Linked DNA regions of Homo sapiens: all the other regions are linked to region 3. The links are contacts of gene promoters, found by promoter capture Hi-C in human tissues and cell types (Jung and others, 2019). All regions are on one chromosome and are shown on one strand. The core of a region is centred on a gene start or on the middle of the fragment in contact, and the rest is flanking DNA. Distances in the headings are between cores, read along the strand shown.

Region 1 (2,700 bases), core at 90-2,589, 190 kb before region 3:
TCTCCAGTGCCGTGGCTGCTAACATATAATGGAAAGAGCTCTGGACTTGAAGGCAAATAGGCTGGGGTTGAAAATCCTCATTCAGCCTTTCAGAAATGTGCAACTTATGCAAGCCATTTATCCTCAACTGCAAATTGGGAAAAAACACTTCCTTCTCATTGTTGCTATGTGGAACAAATACCATCACGTGTATGAAAGAATCTAGCACAGTCTTTGATACATAGTAGTACTCAATATATGCTAGTTGAGGCCGGGCACAGTGACTCATGCCTGTAATCCCAGTGCACTGGGTGGCTGAGGCAGGTGGATCACTTTGAGGTCAGCAGTTCAAGACCAGCGAGACTCTGTCTCAAAAAAAAAAAAAAGAAATGCTAGTTGAATCCTCATCACCTAAAAGGTTACTAACCAGTGTGTGTGTAACATAAAACTTATATTATTTTATAAGGGAAGCAAAGAGTTCCAATTGTTTGAGAATCTTCCAGAAATACTTATGACAGCCTTTTCTGCCCCAATACCACTCCCCCCACTGTCATACACACATTCTAACAACTGGAGGGACAATTGAAAAGGCAAAAAGAAATCAGACTAGGACTCATAGATCTAGGCCTTCCAAAGAACAGGGAGGAACAGGAGTCACAAAACAAAGAACACCTCCTCTGGAGGGACTGTTGGAAGGAAGTTCAATGAAAGAACACTGCTGACCAAAGCCACTGCTCTCCAAGAACAATCCTTCAGAGCCTCACCAAATCTGGAATCAGTGCAGAACTGGGGAAATTTCATCAGATCAACCTGGCTCCAGAATCTGACTATAGCTAACAAAGGACTCAGACTCAGAGGCCTCTTCACAAAAATGCTAATAGAGTGAGTCTAAGACACACTCAAGAGCATGAGCAAGAGGAAAGATTTTGTAGAGTTGGAATACAGGTAATTTCAAAATATTAGTGACATCACCTTCAACCCCGGTGACCCTGGATGCATATACTTTGGGTAGGTGGAATAAGGAGGCCTAGAGATTCTTTAGTCCCTCTGGGAGGCTGTTTTCCACCACCACCCTTCCAGTGTCTGTTCTTGTACGTCTGAAATGTTAAGGTTACTTTTTTTTTCTTTTTGAGACGGAGTCTCGCTCTGTCGCCCAGGCTGGAGTGCAGTGGTGCAATCTTGGCTCACTGCAAGCTCCGCTTCCCGGGTTCATGCCATTCTCCTGCCTCAGGCTCACAAGTAGTTGGGACTACAGATGCCCGCCACCACGCCCGGCTAATTTTTTGTATTTTTAGTAGAGGCAGGGTTTCACCATGTTAGCCAGGATGGTCTCGATTTCCTGACCTCGTGATCTGCCCACCTCGGCCTCCCAAAGTGCTGGGATTACAGGTGTGAGCTGCCGCGCCCGGCCCCAGGTTACTTTTAACTGCCCAATATCATATAGTCCAGCTCCCTGCCTCCCAGCAGTCACCACTAAAGTTTTGCAGAAAGACGGATGGGGAACTCTTCTGTTCTCAGAGATCACCAAAAAAGGCTATTTCTGTTTCTTTCTGCCAACTCTGCCAAGCAAGTTCATTCCTGAATTTAATATCCCTGATGCAGATTGAGCTTGGTATTGGTAAGAAGGTGGCAACTCTTTCACTATGCTCTCTCCCAAAATTAGGTAGTGCCCTCTGAGCAGTAGAACCAGCATGGCTGCCTATGTGGATCTGTCCCTACTCGCAACTGTGAGTTGCACAGGAATAATAAGAAGGAAGCTTTAATCATTCCCTGCCACACCTTCGTAGGGCACTCTCATCAGAGGGTCACCGATTCAACGGGGACCACTACCTTTTAGGTCTGCTTAGAAACTCATGTGATAGCCTCAATCATCTTAAACAATCAACTTCTTTTTCTCAGTCTCTATGTTTGGTACATCCTTTCCTCTCCCTCTAGTCCACAGACTTTTAAGTCACTGAAAGCTCCTAGAAGTACACTTTTCAAAACTTTCAAGGGAAATACAGTTCAGACATTCTCCCACATAATAGTGTCTCAGACCTCACTAGAAAATTTAGCAGATGCCTGCCCCAATTAACTACGATTGGGATTATTACTGGCACCAGGAAGGCAAATAAGGATACTATCACCTCTTTTATCTCACAGACAAAAGAAAAACTCCCAGGGCTCAGCTAAGAATCACATCACAGTATTCAGAGGATTTTGCTACTGAACAGACTCTCCCTCCCGGCAGCTTTTACTCCTCAGGGAGCTAGACAGTGTTGAGAGGTGCAGGAAAAAACAGACTCCTCTCCTATATAAGCAGCTCTACCACTAGAAACCACCAAACTGGAGCTGGGTCTCTTCCCTGGCCTCTCAGGAACCCAGGCACTGCCTGCATCTGAAGCAAGTCATATGGAGAAGAAGGTGTTGTAGGGAATAGGGTTAAATTGCTTTAGCTATTTATTATTACTATTATTTTTATTTTATTTATTTTTTTGAGACAGAGTCTTGCTCTGTTGCCCTGGCTGGAGTGGAGTGCAGTGGCGCAATGTTGGCTCACCGCAACCTCCGCCTCCCAGGTTCAAGCGATTCTCCTGCCTCAGCCTCCCAAGTAGCTGGGATTACAGACACCCGCCACCATGCCCAGCTTGCTTCATTTAGTTTTGAATGCCAAGAAAATATGCCTTTGTGGGCAGGGCATGGTGGCTCACGCCTGTAATCCCAGCACTTTGGGAGGCTGAG
Region 2 (2,700 bases), core at 60-2,559, 130 kb after region 3:
GCATTCTGGTTTGTCGTAAACGTGTGAGTTTTTGTTTAGTTTCTTTTTTGTTTGTTCTTTTGTTGGTTGCCGTATCTCTTTGCTAATAGTATCTTATTTACTGTTGATTCTGTGGTGCTATAGGGCAAGATTAATGTAAAAGGATGGTGTCCTTCAAGATATTTGGGTAATAGAGAGGTTCACCCATTTCAGAACTTAGATGTCTCTACTCTTCTTTCCACATCATGTTCTTTTTCATTTTCTTTGGAGATATCCGTGTGAATGATTAACTGTGGTTTTTCCCACGAGTTTCCTGAATGCAATTCCCATGAGCTGTTTCACACATTTCTAATCTGTTGCTGTTGTAGCTATGCAGGAAAGCCCATCTTGAATTTTTAGTGATGTGTGCTAGCCCCTTTGCTGAATGCCTTTGTTCTTCAGAGCCTAATTGCCACTGATAGCTCAGTCTACTTAATTTTTCTTTTGGTTGCAATATGCTTTATTTGCCTTTAATTATTTGTGGAGTGTTGATATAATGAGAAATGTTCATTATTCTTAGTAGAAAATGCAGTGGGTTCTGTTAGATGCTGGCAAACAGACTACAGGTTTTAAAGCTTAACAGTTGACTAAAGTTACAGTCTCTAAAACTGAGATTTATCCTCTGCATAGGAACGAGCTACTAAACATTTATGGTAAATTCTTTTTAGTGAAGAGATAAGAAAAGCAAGGAAGCTAAAAGAGTTGCAGAGGATCAAATAATGCTTGGTTGCATCTGTAATTAGCTGTAGATAATGGCATATAGGTTTTATTTCAGCATGGACTTCTGTAGTCTTAGAACCACACACAGAATTTAGAGTTTTATGCTTCCTAAGTGCTAACTTTGAGTCATAAGGCATGTAAGAAGTTGAAATCAAGGTCACATCCTAAAAGTAGAGCAGTCTGGATGTTGAGACCTTTTGGGAATTACCTAAAACCTTGGAAACCTGAGAAAAGGAATAATACTACCAATTGTACCTTTGTTTATTTTTATTTTTATTATATATATTTTTTAAGACGAAGTCTCACTCTGTCCCCCAGCCTGGGGTACAGTGGTGTGATCTTGGCTCACTGCAATCTCTGCCTCCCGGGTTCAAACAATTCTGCCTCAGCCTCCCAAGTAGCTGGGATTACAGGTGCGCACCACCATGCCCTGCTAAGTTTTGTATTTTTAGTAGAGATGGTGTTTCACCATGTTGGCCAGGCTAGTCTCGAACTCCTGACCTCAGGTAATCCACCTGCCTCAGCCTCCCAAAGTGCTGGGATTACAGGTATGAGACACTGCGCCCAGCCCACTAATTGTACTTTTCAAATCAACTTTATTGAACATAGTTTACCTATATTAACATTCACTCATGTTAAGTCTCCACTTTTACAAGTTTTGACAAATGTACATAGTCTTATAACCACCACCACCACCATGAAGATTTAGAATATTTTCATACCCTCAAAAGTTCCCTCATGCCCTTTACAGTTAGTCCTCACCCCTTACCACTGCCCTTGTCAACCACGGATCAGCTTACTGTCACCATATTTTACATTTTCCAGAATGTCAAATAAGTAGAATCATACCATTTGTACTCTCTTGTATCTGGCTTTGTTCAGTTAGTATAGTGCTTAAGATTGGCAGACATTGTTATTTAAACCAAATATTTGTCCCTTTTTAATTGCTGAGTAGTAGTCCATTGTATAGATTTACTACAGTTTGTTCATCCTTTCATTGTTCATGCACATGTGGGTTGTTTGCAGTTTTGGACTAGTATGACTAAAGCTGCCATGAAATAATATTAAATGTACAGGTCTTTATGTAGACATATGTTTTCATTGCTCTTGAGTATATACCAAGAAGTGGAATTGCAGGGTAAGTGTAAGTTTAACTTTATAAAAAACTGCCAAACAGTTTTCCAAAGTGGCTATATCATTTTTACATTATCATATGCAGTGGAGAGTTCCAGTGGTTCCATAACCTCTTGATATTTTCAGTCTTTTTAATTCTAGCCATTCTCATGGACATAGTGATACCTTACTGTGGTTTTAATTTGCATTTACCTAATGACTCATGATGATGAGCTGCTTTTTGTGTGCTTAATGGGCATTCATGTGTCTTCATTGATGAAGTAGCTGTTTAACTCTTTTGCCCGTTTAAAAAATTGGGTTGTCTTATTATTTTATTGTAGGGGTTCTTTATACATTCTGGTTCTACAAGTCCTTTATCAGATATATATATATATATATATATATATATATATCATATGTATCATATATATATCATATGTATCAGATATATATATCATATATATCTGATATATATATCATATATATGATATATATAGCATATGATATATATCAGATAGATATATCAGATACATATATATCATATATATGCTATATATATCTGATATATATGAGATATATAAGATATAGATATATATGAGATATATATGTCAGCTATAGATATATATGAGATATATATATCAGCTATAGATATATATGATATATATATCAGCTATAGATATATATGAGATATATATATCAGCTATAGATATATATGAGATATATATATCAGCTATAGATATATATGAGATATATATATATCAGATATAGATATATATGAGATATATATATCAGATATAGATATATATGAGATATATATATATCAGATATATATGATATATTTTCCAGTAG
Region 3 (2,700 bases), core at 9-2,508:
CCTAATCCTTATATACAGCTTGCTCTGGAATGCAGAGACTTTGCATCCCAGCTGAGGAGCTGGTAAGTGGACTTTACTCTGTAGGACCCACACCTAGCTTTTGAAGGCTTGGGGAGGGGCGGAAACCAGCTCCCGAGAATACACCGGAATCTGTGCTGCATCGAAGATTCCTCTTCTACTCCAATAGATACAGGGTAAATATTTGTTGTAACTAAATGAGAACAAAATCCGGAGCCCAGCAACGTAAACGAAGTCAATCTCTTTTTTACATATCTCAACGGTTAACAGCTAGGATGCCAGCTTTAATGTTGTTTTAACTGCAGCTGGTATGAGCGGTCCTGCAGTTTGCAGAGCCCCTAGTTTTTACTCTTTTCTAGGAACTGGGATCAGCATCCCTACTTTTTGAGAGGCTAACTCTGAGGTAAATTTACAACTGAGTCCCTTTCAGTTTAGAACGAAGGTCATTCCTATTTTGGTAAATTTGCGTCCCCGGTTTCCATTCATTCAGTCAACAAATATTTATTAAGCATGTAGTATGTACCAGTCCCTGTTGTAGGCGTTTGGGGTGAAGCAAGGCACAGAACAAGAGATCCTTGCTCTGGTGAAGCTTATCGTAGGACGGGAGGCAAAATGATGAAAATGATTTTTAAAATTATGTTATTAACTAGAAGGTGATAAATATTACATAGAAAAAGATGTCAGGCTGCAAAATGATTGCGGAGGCCACAAGATAAAAGAGAATCCAAGATCAGGGTTCTGGTTCGGGTCAGGGAAAAGGGAGACGAGCTGAGGTGCAGGAGGCTCTGACGTCGGGGGACAACGGAGATATTTTCTGCAGAAAGTGACGAAAGAGCATTCTGGTTCCTGCAGAGGTAGGTGAAGGACAGAAAGGGCCCTGGCCGGCGATTCCCTTGGAGTAAACGGGAGGCAGGAGGCTGTTTTCTAGCAGAGCCCAGAAGATGCTCTGGCCGACGGCTCCCGGGATCTTGGCCGGCGGTCACTCGCGACCATCCGCGACGCCCCCAAAATGGCCTCCGCGCCCCTCGCCGCCCCGCCCCGACGCTCCGCAGCCCGTGGGTCCACGTGACCTGGCCCGCCCTTCGCGGCTGGAGACCCCGGGTCCCGGTCCCCGCACCGGAGGCCCCGCCCCCTACGGGAAGCGGACCAACCGGAGCGGGGAAAGGCGGGGCGGGCACTGACGGCCCGCGGGGGTGGAGCTCCGCAGCGGAGTAACAGGTTGGTGGGAGGGAGAGAAAGGAGGGAGCTCCGAGGACGAGGGGGAGGGCCGGAGCTGCGCGTGCTGCTTTGCCCGAGCCCGAGCCCGAGCCCGAGCCCGAGCCCGAGCCCGAGCCCGAACGCAAGCCTGGGAGCGCGGAGCCCGGCTAGGGTGAGTGGACCCGGTGCGGGCCAGGGCACCCGAGAGGAAAGCGAGCCTTCAGGGGTACCTTTGAGGGGCAGGCATCGAGGCGGTGTGAGATGCCCCTCTCCAGGGCACCGGTGCCGAGTGGGAGACGGGAGGAGGGGAGATTGGGGCGGGGTGGGGTACTGATTAAGAGCCGACCCCTACCCTGAGGTGCCAGATGCAGGTGGCTAGGAAGGTGCCAGGCGAGGGGCACCTGGGGCGAAGGCTGTTCCCAGCGCATGAAAGCGTTTCAGCGCCAGATGTCTCTGGAGGTCAGACGCCAGCCCTAGGGGCAGAATTTCTCTTGGAGACAGCGGTGGCGCGGGGAAGGAGTTAGTTCCAGCTGAGTCGGGAACTGCTGCTGCCTGAGGTGCAGACTCGCCAGGGGAGGGCATCTGCAGGTGCTGCTCGCCTGAGGGTCTTTCCTGCGTCCTGCGGTCTCAGCTGGCCGTTGTCAGCACCCTGGTGGCTTTGAGATGACTCTGAGGTGTGGGATTTTTTCCCCAGCCCTTCACCTCCGGCCGAAGGCAGTTGCGAATCAGAGACACTGAGGGGCAGATGAGAGGGCACCCTCATCTCTTCACCAGGTGTACAACCATTAGGCTTTCACTTTGTGTCCTTTGCTTTCGTGCCAGGGAGAATCGTTCCTTCTTCCTCTTGAGAGAGAGAGAGAGTACTCCCCAAGAGAGGGATATGAGGAAGCAAAGAGCCCTGCCTGGTCCTGCAAAATATTGATAAATATTAATACTTATTTCTCAGGAGGCCCCTTTCTGGGGGCGGATGTCAAACCCTTTCTCCAAGTACCCACATATTTTTTCTGTGGTTCTAGATGGGGACCATTGGATGAGGTTTGGGAGCCCAACCAATTTCCTTGATGTCTGGAGGAATCCCCATTACTCCCTGAACGCCCTCCAGGCATCCCTGACTCCTGAACTGCGGTGGCTGTCAGAATGGCAGCAGGCACTATTGGGGCAGGAAATAGGCAGGACTCATCAGGAGACCACGAGACTAGGGAAATTACAACTCCAAATCCCCAGGACAGATGAAAGGTGCACCTTGGGGCCCAGACAAGACTGGAGGCAAATTTCTTTGCCTTAGGCAGGTAAAGGAACTAGAGTCAACCTTAGCTTGGCCCCTTTGAAGCCCTGCCTGAGGAAGGTTGTTGTAATTGGGAAATAATTAGCAACCGCTATGTTTGTAGATGGGCTGCCTACACATGCCTATGCATCTCTTCTTTCATCCTGGATGTTTGGGAGTCTGGGGGCTGGCTCTGGGGGACTGCTAATCCAGAGATTTGC
Region 4 (2,700 bases), core at 95-2,594, 210 kb after region 3:
ATTAGATACTAGAAGAACAAATCTTGAAGACCAAATTCCCTTTCTCCTCCCGTATTCAGTTGGGAGTGGAATAAAATAATTTAGAATTTATGAGGAGCCCAGGGTGAAGAGAAAGTTAATCTACACAAAAAAGTCAGTCCAAGAGGGGGAAATTCTGGCAGAATGTCCCCCAGGTCCTTTCCAGCATCTTTAGTCGGACAGAACGTTCCTTCCTTTGCAGAACTCAGCTCACTCTATGTTCTGGGGTGCTTCCACGTTGTTTGAAGAATCCACGGCTCCAGTGTCGAATGTGTACCGGACAGAGGGACGGGTTGGCTTCTGGGACAGTGGAAAGGGAAGAAGCTTGGGTTCTCTTTCCCCAGTACTAGGCTTCCTCTAGCTTCTGTCCAAGTGAGGGAGTCTGGAAGCAGATTCGGGGAGACCTTTTTTCCTGTTTTACTCTAGAGCTAACAAAAAAACCCTGAAGTTGGGTGGGGTCAAAAAGGGCTCATTCCACATACAATTAAGTCCAGAAATCAGTCCCCCAATCCGGGAAAGGCGATCCTTTAGAGACCCACCCCCCAAGCCCCCGCCCCGGAGCTCACCCCTCAGTTCCCTCAGCCCCTAGCCCCTGCTTCGCTGAAGGGGCCGGGCTTGGGGGCAGGGCGGGGCCGGGGGCGGGGCCTCGCCGGCTCGCGGCCGGTCGCCTTGACGACCGCAGCAAGATGGAGACGCTGCCAGGCTTGCTGCAGCGGCCCGACCCCGGGGCGCTTAGCGCAGCGCAGCTGGAGCAGCTGCGAAAATTCAAGGTGGGTGCGCCCGCGCCCCCATCCAGCGTCCACCAAAGTGTAGCTGCCCCAGGACTGGGGCCCCAGACTGGGAAGAGAGCCGCCGAGAGAAGGGGAGCGGGAGCCTGTTCCCTGATAAAGTGGGGAGGGCGCAGGGGAGACCCCCGGCGGACCTCTAGGCGTCTGATCCCAGCACAGAGCGCGACGGGCATCTGAGAGTGCAGGAAGAACTAACTCAGGGACTCGGCCAGAGAAATGGGCCGAAATTACTGCCAGACACATCCGACCTTAGTAAAGGCCCCTCATCCTGAACAAGCGGCAGAATGATATTTTATCTGTAAGAAGATGGGTGGCTTAAACTTTCAAGCATCCTGGGGAAAGACTTGGGTTAAATGCGCACGCCGTTTCCCGCAGCCCTTCACATCTCCAGGGCTGAACCCTGAATCTGTCTCCTAATGGAAGTGACCCTTTGTTCTTGCCCCCCAGATTCAGACTCGGATTGCTAACGAAAAGTACCTAAGGACCCACAAAGAAGTAGAGTGGCTCATAAGTGGTTTCTTCAGGTAGGTGGTTTTCCAGGCTCTGGGATTTGTGGCACGCAGGGTTTTCTTCGTTATCTCTAGAGGTTTCCTTCAGTTATCTCTAAATTCTTAAAAATATGTCTATTCATTTACTTTAACCATAAGGATAAATACATACCTTATGACACTTGGAAGAGGGAATTTGGCGTTGCGAAACCCAACAGCCATCCACTGGGTGTAGAACACTATTCTCAACCATAGGAGCTTAACAAAATCACTAGTTGAACTTAAAACAAAAATCAGTTGTCTGGTTGGCCCTTCCCTACTTGAAAACATTACTGTAGAAAAATTCCAAGGGTTGGAAGCCACTCTTTTCTTGGGGAAGAGAAGACAATTTACCAGCGTATCCTGGAATATGTTCTTTCCTTCCCCCACCCTCCTTTCAGCCTGGCATTTGCTTGAATGGAAACATATCCTAATGGGATGAAGAAGGAGAATTAAAAAAATAAATCACGGAGCATCAGTGGATGAAAACAATAGAGCTATCTCAAATGCTGTTTGGTTATAGACAAATAGACAAGGTTTAAATAATTATAATGGCACCCATCTCCAGGCATTGTGCTGTTCCCCTACATTAGCACTTACCACACTGTATTGTAATTGAGCTGTCAATCTTCTGTTACTGGTCCAAAGCTCCGAGCTTGTGGAGTGTGTTTGTGTTCTCAGTGCCCACGCAGTGTGTGGCATCTTGGAACACTTTTGCTGATCCTCCCAGCACCTCCACAAAAGACAGGTGATTGTCATTTTTATTTTATAAGTGAGAAAATTTAAGCTTAGAAAGGTGAAGTACCTTCCCAAAGTTGCTGAACCAGGATTCAAACCCCTGGTTTTCCCACTGTATTGTGCTGTAAGCAGTCGGTCCCCATTTCCCCTCTGGACTGTGTGCTTATAGCCAGAGGTGGGCCCTCCCTTGTCTTCTCAAAAGTTGGCGAGGTCAGGCAAGGTGGCTCATGCCTGTAATCCCAGCACTTTGGGAGGCCGAGGCGGGTGGATCACCTGAGGTCGGGAGTTCGAGACCAGCCTGACCAACATGGTGAAACCCCGTCTCTACTAAAAATACAAAATTAGCCAGGCGTGGTGGCACATGCCTGTAATCCCAGCTACTTGAGAGGCTGAGGCAGGAGAATCGCTTGAACCCAGGAGGCAAAGGTTGCAGTGAGCTGGGATTGCTCCATTGCACTCTAGCCTGGGCAACAAGAGCAAAACTCCATCGCAAACAAACAAAAAAAAGTTGGCCAGGCAGATGCGTTGGCTCACGCCTGTGATCCCAGCACTTTGGGAGGCTGAGAGGGGTGGATCACTTGAGGCCAGGAGTTCGAGACCTGCCTGGCCAACATGAGGAAACCCTGTCT
Region 5 (2,700 bases), core at 66-2,565, 130 kb before region 3:
ATGCCAAATGTAGCTAACAGTGGTTACCTCAAGAATTGGATTACAGGGAGCAATTTTTATTTTTCACATTATGTATCAATCATATTTTTAAAATTTTATATTAAGTTTGAAATACATGTGTAAACAATTGAAACAGTGAAAGAATACAGTAACATTTTTGCCTATAAGATGGGCAAAAAATTTAAAGGTTAAAATCTTGTATTGGTGAGACTATGCGGCAAAGGGACCACTCATTTAGGACTAATGAGAGTGTCAATTGGTGCCTTACTAACAAAAACAATTTGTCAATACCTCACAAAAGTTAAACTGTGCATACTGTTTTACCTAGGAATTTCACTTCAAGGATGCAATCCCATGGAAATACCTGCACAAGTAGGCAAGAAACAGGTACAGGTTGAGGCGGTGGCTCACGCCTGTAATCCCAGCACTTTGGGAGGCTGAGGCAGGTGGATCCCCTGAGGTCAAGAGTTCGAGACCAGCCTGGCCAACATGGCAAAACCCTGTCTCTACTAAAAGTATAAGAATTAGCCTGGCGTGGTGGCACACACCTGCAATCCCAGCTACTTGGGAGGCTGAGGCAGGAGAATCACTTGAACCTGGGAGGTGGAGGTTGCAGCGAGCCAAAATTGCACCACTGCATTGCAGCCTGGGGCGACAGAGGGAGACTCTGTCTAAAAAAAAAAAAAAAAAAGAAAAAAGATATAGGTACAGGTTGAGCATCCTTAATCTGAAAATCTGAAATCCAAAATGCTCCAAAATCTGAAATGTTTTGAGCACCAGTGTGACACCACAGGTAGCAAATTGCGTGCCTGACCTCACGTGTTGGGTCACAGTCAAGACTTTGTTTCATGTACAAATTATTTAAAATATTGTATAAAGTTACCTTCAGGCTATGTGTATAAGGTGTTTATGAAACACAAATAAATTTGCGTTTAGACTTGGGTCCCATCCCCAAGATATTTTAATATATATATATGTATTCCAAAATCTGAAAAAAATCTGAAATCTGGAACACTTCTGGTCCCAAGCAGTTTGGATAAGGGATACCCAAACTGTAATAATAAAATAACAACAGCTATCATTTATTAAATACATGGTACTGTTCGAAGTACTTAGGGATAAAGAAAGAGAAATGAACCACATCCACCTCATATAAAAGCTTTCCATGTGCCAAGTACTTCTCTGAGCTATTTGCATGTTCTGCCTTTACTTATACAGGGTTTACAACATCCCTATGAAGTGGGTATTTTCATTATGTCCAATTTACAGATAAAGAAGTTACAGCATAGAAAGAGGAAGCAACTCATACAAAGTTACACAGCTAGTGAGTAGCAGAGCCCAGGATCTGAAGCCAGGCAGTAGCTTCAGGCTCTGGCCTGGGACCTCTATGCACATAAGTTCGCAGCCCCTTCAGACAGAATGCTTTTGTGTTTTGTTGCTTGGATGGCTGGCCAGCACATTCAGCCCTTTCTATATTGGGTGGGAGGCAAAAGGCCAGATACTCACCGTCCCAGGCCTTAGGCCTCCTTGCTGCTAGGAGCAAGCATGTGACTTGGTCTTGGACGCAGCCAGGTGTGCCCACCGGAGACTCCAACACAAGGAAGTAGGGAGTGGGTTCTGGTTGCTGCAGGGAAGGCTGGTGTGCGGGTGGGTCACCATGCTGCAGAACCTCCCAGGGTCCAGCGCAGCTGGTGGTGCCATGGCAGCACATAGAACTTGAGGGGTAGAGGCAGTGTCCTTTGATTGGGATCTAGGACAAGAAAGGGCTCTCTGGCTGCAACCACTTCTGCCACTGGGGCCTTATGATCGAGCAGATCCAGTGATGCTTGGTGAGTTGGGGTGATCCATGGGATGAGGCAGGCAAGAGGCAGAAGGAGAGTCCCCAGGGTGACCCCAAATGATTGAGCCCAGCCCACTTCAGCAAAGAACAGTTCTCTTGAAAAACAGCCTCTTCTGAGCTTCTGGGTCCCAAGAGAAACCAAACATGAGAGGATGGGACACCAGGTGGCCTTTGACTCAAGCCTCCTTATGAACTGGGGATTATCTGATCCACCTAGCTAGCCCAGGAACCAAGCCCAGGAGCTCATCATCCTTAAGTAGAACTGGGTTGAGCCCGAAAGGAACCCTGAGAGTGAAGCTGCCAACAGCAGAGAGAAGCTGCGGAGTCGCCTGGCTAGCCCTGTCTTGCCAATACCCTCTCCCCTCAGTCCACCCTAAGAGCTTTAGAAGTTATACATGAAGACTACAGAGAAGAAAAACATTCTAGGCTGGGTTACAGGTGGCTGGCTCTCCACTATACACCATCATCAGCCAGAAGTGGTCTATTATTAAGAGATTAACAACAAGAATTTTAGAACCAGACTGTGTGTGTGAATTCCACTTCCACCAGTTACTAGCTTTATGAATCTGGGCAAGTAATTTAACCTCTCTGTACCTCGGTTTCCTCATCTCTAAAAGAGAGAAAATAAAATATCTATTCCCCTCATAGGGTGTTTTGAAAATTGCATGATGATATACATAAAGCTCTTCGAAAAGCACCCAGAACCTAACATACGCTGTGTTGTTGTTGTTGCAGCAATACAGCCCTTCTGAGAAAGTTCTAGAGAGCTGTTGAACAACAGTGTGAAATACTTAACACTACTGAGCTATACGTTTAAAAATGGTTAAGATGGTAAATTTAATGTTTTGTGTTTTTTTGTT

What was found. Contacts are between HindIII fragments. The study calls those that stand out against the background at their distance.
Region 1: a fragment that was not itself captured here is called in contact with the fragment with the promoter of CGN in region 3 in 6 of the 25 tissues and cell types used here (aorta, bladder, heart left ventricle and 3 more).
Region 2: a fragment that was not itself captured here is called in contact with the fragment with the promoter of CGN in region 3 in 1 of the 25 tissues and cell types used here (H1 embryonic stem cells).
Region 4: a fragment that was not itself captured here is called in contact with the fragment with the promoter of CGN in region 3 in 4 of the 25 tissues and cell types used here (H1 embryonic stem cells, IMR-90 fibroblasts, aorta and 1 more).
Region 5: a fragment that was not itself captured here is called in contact with the fragment with the promoter of CGN in region 3 in 1 of the 25 tissues and cell types used here (liver).

What each region holds. Positions count from the first base shown.
Region 1 is chr1:151,318,943-151,321,642 of GRCh38, forward strand. The region is part of intron 1 of PI4KB (phosphatidylinositol 4-kinase beta); the gene reads right to left. Among named protein-coding and RNA genes, the nearest start is that of PI4KB, 7.1 kb to the right of the region's middle. The HindIII fragment of the contact is 7,586 bases long and covers 1-2,700 here.
Region 2 is chr1:151,639,367-151,642,066 of GRCh38, forward strand. All of the region lies in intron 2 of SNX27 (sorting nexin 27), which reads left to right. Among named protein-coding and RNA genes, the nearest start is that of SNX27, 29 kb to the left of the region's middle. The HindIII fragment of the contact is 4,881 bases long and covers 1-2,700 here.
Region 3 is chr1:151,510,129-151,512,828 of GRCh38, forward strand. CGN (cingulin) reads left to right here and starts at 1,259. Exons shown (of 21, transcript NM_020770.3): 1 at 1,259-1,387. RefSeq lists enhancers at 336-912, 913-1,488, 1,640-1,779, 2,642-2,700 and a silencer at 910-1,309. The HindIII fragment of the contact is 12,501 bases long and covers 1-2,700 here.
Region 4 is chr1:151,720,833-151,723,532 of GRCh38, forward strand. RIIAD1 (regulatory subunit of type II PKA R-subunit domain containing 1) reads left to right here and starts at 690. Exons shown (of 5, transcript NM_001144956.3): 1 at 690-788; 2 at 1,254-1,330. The coding sequence starts at 705. RefSeq lists a silencer at 575-644. The HindIII fragment of the contact is 5,488 bases long and covers 1-2,700 here.
Region 5 is chr1:151,379,930-151,382,629 of GRCh38, forward strand. No RefSeq gene overlaps it. Among named protein-coding and RNA genes, the nearest start is that of SELENBP1, 8.6 kb to the left of the region's middle. The HindIII fragment of the contact is 4,780 bases long and covers 1-2,700 here.